Linked DNA regions of Homo sapiens: region 1 is linked to region 2. The links are contacts of gene promoters, found by promoter capture Hi-C in blood cells and fetal thymus (Javierre and others, 2016). All regions are on one chromosome and are shown on one strand. Each heading gives the region's core, a stretch centred on a gene start or on the middle of the fragment in contact. The rest is flanking DNA. Distances are from core to core; before and after follow the strand shown.

The links. Contacts are between HindIII fragments. The CHiCAGO score rates a contact against its expected background, and 5 or more counts as called.
Region 1: a contact is called between a fragment that was not itself captured here and the fragment with the promoter of SCG5 in region 2, in 3 of 17 cell types (M0 macrophages, monocytes and fetal thymus). The highest score is 5.6, in M0 macrophages.

What each region holds. Positions count from the first base shown.
Region 1 is chr15:33,225,055-33,228,479 of GRCh38, forward strand. No RefSeq gene overlaps it. Among named protein-coding and RNA genes, the nearest start is that of FMN1, 32 kb to the left of the region's middle. RefSeq lists an enhancer at 1,674-1,723. The HindIII fragment of the contact is 7,416 bases long and covers 1-3,425 here.
Region 2 is chr15:32,639,680-32,643,048 of GRCh38, forward strand. SCG5 (secretogranin V) reads left to right here and starts at 2,031. Exons shown (of 6, transcript NM_001144757.3): 1 at 2,031-2,099. All of the region lies in intron 9 of ARHGAP11A-SCG5 (ARHGAP11A-SCG5 readthrough), which reads left to right. It overlaps ARHGAP11A (Rho GTPase activating protein 11A), which reads left to right. Exons shown (of 12, transcript NM_014783.6): 12 at 1-262. RefSeq lists enhancers at 1,524-2,164, 2,165-2,803. The HindIII fragment of the contact is 7,166 bases long and covers 1-3,369 here.

The DNA of each region.
Region 1 (3,425 bases), core at 1-2,500, 580 kb after region 2:
ATTTATTTTATAGTTTTTAAATGAGAAATGGCATGTGTTATGTTTGTTGATGACATATCATAGTTTAATTAGCAGTCATTTTTCTTAGTGGCACATATAATGTTGCATTTTATACTTAGTGGCATTTTAGCTTCTAGAAACACACTTTTTTTTTTTTTTTTTTTGAGACGGAGTCTCACTTTGTTGCCCAGGCTGGAATGCAGTGGTATGATCTCAGCTCACTGTAACCTCCAACTCCCAGGTTCAAGTGATTCTCCTGCCTCAGTCTCCTGAGTAGCTGGGACTACAGGCACACGCCACCACGCCTGGCTAATTTTTGTATTTTTTGGTAGAGACGGGGTTTCACCATATTGGCCAGGCTTGTCTCGAACTCCTGACCTCAAGTGATCTACCCACCTCAGCCTCCCAAAGTGCTGGGATTACAGGTGTGAGCCACTGCACCTGGCCAGGAAAACAATTCTTAACTCTGAGTCTCTGGCTCTTCCTCCATGAAATGAGGGTAATGAAGGGACCTGGGGAATAGGGTCATTGCAAAGATTAAGTAAGATAATGTGTGTAAGATATTTAGCAGCTTCTCAAGGCTGTCTGCCTTTCTTGGTCCATGGCCAAGAGGCTGGCTTCTTTCTTCAAAGCCAGCACTTGTATCACTCAAATCTCTGCTTCTGTTGTCATACCTTCTTAAACTCCGATTCTCCTTTCCCCTTTGTGATCACACTGGGCTCACCTGGAAAATTCAAGGGACTCTCACCATCTTAAAATCATTAATCACCTCTGCAGAGGCCCACAGGAGGGAACATATTCACATGTTCTGGATTCTATGTTGTCACATTTGCAATGGACTGAATGTGTTCCCTCTAAAATTCCTATGTTAAGACTCTAATCTCACTGTGATGGTATTTGTGTGTGGGGCTTTGGGGAGGTAATTAGTTCATGAAGGCAGAGCCCTTGAGGATTAGTGCCCTTATAAGAACAGGCCAGAGAGCCAGCCAGCTCTTTCCTCTGTGTGAGGATACAAGTTAGCAGCCTGCAACCCAGAAGAGGGCTCTCACCTTAACTCAACCCTGCTGGCACCCTGATCTTGTATTTCCAATCTCCAGAACCGTGAAAAATAAATATTTGATAGTTTATGGTATTTTATTATGGCTGCCTGGGCTGACAACATCTTTGGGGGGGCTGTTATTCAGCCTACCATGTCGGGAAAGGGGCAATTTGTAGCTTTACCCTGATTTCTATATTCTCTCCACGTAGTGGGAAGAACCCAATATATTAAAGAGACTGTTATAATCAATGTAAGGTAGGTAGGAGCAAATACAGACCCAGTTGGAATTCAAGGCTGAAGATGCCAAAGCAGCTACAAATATGAAAAAATAATCAGGAAGGGTGGCTTCATATTAAGGTCCACTTTTTCTTCCTACATAGAAGGAATTTTCCCAATTTGGAAATAACTCTCCCCAGTTCTCTCTTGTCTTTATATAAGGAGTCTGGAGGTTACCAAAAGTGCTTTCAGAGCAGTGGTTTGCAGCCTTGGCTGTACATTGGAATTAAGGCAGGAGAAAAGGGAATTAGGGTAACCAAAGATTAAGGCATAAGCAAAAGAACAGCAGGTGCAGGCAGTTCTAGCCAAGATTGGGCAGCATACAAGCCACATCCTCCTTCCTGTGATAACAAGACAGAAGTTTCCACTTCAGACTCTGATTGGCCTCAGGTCAATTTTTCATAGACTGCCACCAGTTGGAGGCCTCTAGAGGGCACCTAGGGGTATTGCCAAGTTCTTTTGGCTTTATAAATACCCTGGGGAGCATTGCAATAGGGAGGCTCTTGAGCCACTTGCTCAAGTCTGCTCCCACTCTGTTAATCGTACTTTTGCATCTTCAATAAATTTATGCCTTTATTACTCTACTCTTTTATTTTGTCTTTTGTTGCTTCTTTTGTTGCTTTGTTTGTGCATTTTGTTCAATTCTTTGTTCAATACGCCAAGAACCTGGAAAACTCACAGTCAAGACGTTCTATCTAGTGATGGAATCACCTGGAGGAGCTTTTCAAAGATACCAATACCCCTAAATAAAATCAAGATATCTGGAGTTGGGGCCCAGGCATGAATATTTTAAACTGTCCCTGGGTGATTCTGATGTGTTACTAGGGTTGAGAATCAGCTATAAAGGAAGTAACAGGATTCCTCTTCCGGAGGCCCACAAAATTTTCTCTCTCTCTCTCTTGCAAATACTTCACTTTGTTCTGAGTATTTCTGGGAATCAATGGTTTTGAAGGTTTAAACATTTAGAAGGTTTACCCTTGGGGAGCCCTCAGGACTATCTTGTACTTTCTCTTCTTCCGCAGTCGTGTCAATACCTAATCCACTGGAGACCAAAGTTTATTGATTCTTTTAAACTCTTTCTTGCATACCAGATATAAGTGGATAATAAATAAAGTTTCTTGAACAACTAGTAATCAAGTAAGCTGCTGTAAGACTTTCTCTGCTGGGATAATGAACTCCAAATAATCGAAGGATCAATTTACCTCTAGCCTCTCCCCCAGGCAATTAAGATATTTAAAGCCTGAGGGCACATTTTAATTTCCGTCTTTTACCTTTCCTCAGTTAGAAGGCCCTTCCTCCTCCATCTCCATGAGTTGAAATCATATCTCTTGGTCAATTCCTGTATCAAATGACACCTCTCCCATTAGCTCCTTTTTGTTCATCTTTTTCCTTTGAGCCTTTTTGTATTATCTTGATGACACTTCCCTCATGCTTCTTTGCATTTGTTAGTACTTTCCTTTTTCCTTGTGAATAGAATATAAACTCTTTTGAAGTAGGATTATATAATAAAATATACAATCCTCTCATGCCTATTTTTCCTAGCAAAGTAATGCAGGTGAAGGGACATAAAAATTCCTAATGGACATTTTCTCTTTTAAGATTGATCACTGGTGATCTTCCCAGTAGGATAAAACCTTGGGGAGAAGATGAGTTTTCCATTACATGAGAAGTCACTGGAAGACTATATTTCAGGCCCATTGTTGACTTATAAATTCTCTAGATTAGAAATACTCAGACCATGCCTGGAGAGACAGGTGAATCTTTCAGCATCCAAACCTTAGATTCATCTCTTATTTCCAGACTACAGTACTGACTGTGGACTGTGTAGGGTGTAAACTGTCAGGGGGTTTTGTTTAAAGTTGACTGTAAATGTAGTTCCAGGTTTAGCTGACCTGGAAGGTAGGAAATCTCCTAACCACCTACATTTTCAGCAGAGAAATTCTAGCAAAGGCAAGGATTCATATCCAGGAAATCTATTTCCTTGCCCATCAGACTCTCTTAGACTTTCCCCATCCACCACACGGCCCTAGCCCTCGCCCTCGCCCCATCTTTCCACCCCTGAACTCCTAAGAACTGCTGAAAGACACTGCTATAGCTCTCTCCACTCTTC
Region 2 (3,369 bases), core at 781-3,280:
TATTTTTGTTAGCTGAAAGCTGCTATACGGAGTATTACAGGAATGTGAAGGTGACTAGCTTGAAGGTAGGGTAACTAGAGAGCCAGAAAAGTTTTGTTTTAAACTTGATTTAATGCGTTTTTATTTTTTCTTATACAAAATAGAGATAATGTTGCTAACTTCATGGAATATTTGAGGAAATGATATGAAAGTGTCTGGACGTGCAGTAACCTCATGGGTTCTTCTCACTGTCTTATAAATGTAAATAAAGATCTAATATTAATTTGGTTATCTAATAACAACTTAATACATAGAACTTAGTAGACTGCATGGCCACATTCTATAATATGATCACTAAGAACTTAATGTAGGATTTTAATAGTCATGTTTTTCTTAATTGTGGCAGAATTTAAACCTTAATTTTGTGATCTTTTTTAGTTAGTTTGTTTTTTGTTTTCTTTTCTTTTTTTTTTTTTTTTTTTTTTGAGGCGGAGTCTCACTCTGTCGTCCAGGCTGGAGTGCAGTGGCACAATCTCAGCTCACCGCAACCTCCATCTCCCGAGTTCAAGCGATTCTTCTGCCTCAGCCTCCCAAGTAGTTGGGACTACAGGCATGCACCACCACGCCCAGCTAATTTTTGTAGTTTTAGTAGATACGGGATTTCACCATATTGGCCAGGCTGATCTCGAACTCCTGACCTTGTGATCCTCCCACCTTGGCCTCCCAAAGTGTTGGGATTATGGGCGTGAGCCACTGCACCTAACCTCTGTGATCTCTTAAATATATATGAAGTTTTATTTTTGAAACACCAAATTTCAAATGAAGCATAGGCATTTTGATCTATTTCAGTTAAATTTAACACAAAAGCAGTAAATTGTAGTGACTTCATTTTTTTCAACCACAAAATGAAGATAACAATGAACAAAGCTAAAGTAAAACTCAGAATTGAAAAAAGTCTCTGTGCATCAATAATAAATACTAACTCCAGCATGGCCAGTGAGCCTAGAGCCATTTAATGGATAGTGTTTGTCCTGTTGATTTAGCATGCATTGAAACAAGAAGCAAGAAGCAGATGAGCATCCGTGAAAGAAAAAGTACTGGGAAAGAGGCTTGGCTTCAAAATGAAAGGCCATGTGTCTCATAAATGAATTTTGCCAGCCTCTATTTATTGCATAAAAATTGCTGTAGATGATAATGGATTTGCTCTCTAGAGCTAAGATAAATAGATCTGGATTCTAACCTCATCAGGTTACTTGTTTTGAGACCCCCAGGTTCTTTACTCATCCTCCATCTTGATCAAATTTGTAGTGCCATATTTATTGTATGGCTTTACATTTTGATTTTAGTATTTGAACAAATTTCAGTGTTCAAGATTGCACATAGTAGGTGCTCCATAAACCCTTATTTAAGAATCTGGGACTACCTGGACATACTTCTACAGTATGCTGGGAGTATGGTTTCTCTTCAGGCCAAAGTGGAATTTTACTTGATGGTTTGTGTGGACGTTTAGAAATAACACTCAGAGCTGATATTTCTACAGATTTTCAAGTTTATCACTTTAATGGAAGTTTCTGGCTTCTTGTATTAAATATCCCCATAGTTTTCCTGATTAGTAAGAGGCCCCTCAGAGCAGGGTATACCTTATCATAGCCACCATTAAAAGTTCTTAGGACTTCATCTTTTGTCTCTCTACCATTCATTGCCTCTTCCCTCTTGAAGCTGAAAGGCTTTAGACACAAAAACAAAAAACATATTCTAGAAGTTGACAAAATTAAAGGTGTGCTGTAGTGGTGATCTGGCACGTTGTAATTGAGACTGAGGAGGTGAATGACTTACATGGAGGTCGATGGAGCTGAAGAGGGTCTCTAGGAAATGTCATAGTCAAGAGGTTTGTATGCAGAATGTGGGGGTTGAAGAGCTGTGCGGCTCCTGGTGAGAGGCACACTTATCTGGGATGCAGTCTGGGGAGTCCTGGCGAGGCAGCTTCCACCTGCTGGAGGAGGGGCCGGGGCGGAGCTAAGATGCGGAGGAGGGTGACGCACTAGCTCTCCAGTTCGCCCGTTCCTGGCCTGACCCCCACCAAGGCCCATACCGCAGTAGGCTCCTCGGGCTGCCCCTCGGTGAGTACAGTTTTGATGTCGGCTCGGCCGCCTGCCGCCAACCCGAGATTTGGTATTGCCAGTTGTGGGAGGGCGTCCTGCTAAAATCCTTGAGGTGGAGGCTGGGGTCAGACGAAGGATGCGTAGGGGATTAGAATGTTTGGCTATCAGTAAGGGGAAGGGAGTACTGAGGGAGGAGATTGTGTAGTTCATCAAATCAGAGCGGCGTTTGCTGGGATGACATCCTGCATTCAGAGTGGACAAGGGAAAGATGGAGATGGAGAGCCTCGTGTCTGCCTCCAGCCTTTTCCATCAGAATTGCAGATTTTGCTGTTAAACAGCTACTCTCAGCTCTTTGGAGAGCAAGGTTTTATATCTAGTGGCTAGAAAAGGCCTTTTCTTTGCAGAAAAAGAAATTGGAGGGTATAAAAATTTTTGTTTCAGTAAAGGAAATGCACGATTTTGCCTCCTCCCACCTCTCCATCCCCCATCCTCAGTAGAAGAATGATTAGAAGGAGGGTTTGCGCCGGTCCTGGTGGCTCACGCCTGTAATCCTAGCGCTTTGGGAGGCTGAGGGGAGGGGGTGGATCACCTGAGGTCAGGAGTTCGAGACCAGCCTGACCAATATGGTGAAACCCTGCCTCTATTAAAAATACAAAAATTAGCCGGGTTTGGTTGTGGGCGCCTGTAATTCCAGCTACTCGGGAGGCTGAGGCAGGAGAATCACTTGAACCTGGGAGGTGGAGGTTGCAGTGAGTCGAGATGGCGCCACTGCACTCCAGCCTGGGCAACAAGAGTGAAACTCCGTCTCAAAAAAAAAAAAAAAAAAAAAAAAAAAGGGTTTGCAAGGCCGCTGCCTGAAGCATGCATCCAAACACGTTAAGCAGCTGTGGGGTAAGCTGCAAGGATAATGTTCACTTGTTTTGCAGACATACCCATAGAAACCAACATTTTGGACAGGTTGACCCTCCCACCCCCAGGCTAGTTAACTCCCTCTCACCACCACTGCCTCCCCATATTCTAACCTCCAGAACTGTTAAGGCAATGTTAGCAACATAATAATAGCAATATAGGGGCTCATTCTGTGCCTGGCATTGTCCTAAACACTCTTAACATGTATTTGCACACACCCTCACAACAACCCTAAAAGGTAAATGCTTTAATTATCTCCGTTTTGCAGAGGAGGAAACTGAGGGACTTGCCTACGATCACTCAGCATGTGGCTGAGCAAACAAACCTCAAACTACCCCAGCAGATTGCAGGGCTGGATCTAAGGAACATTTTCCTTCCT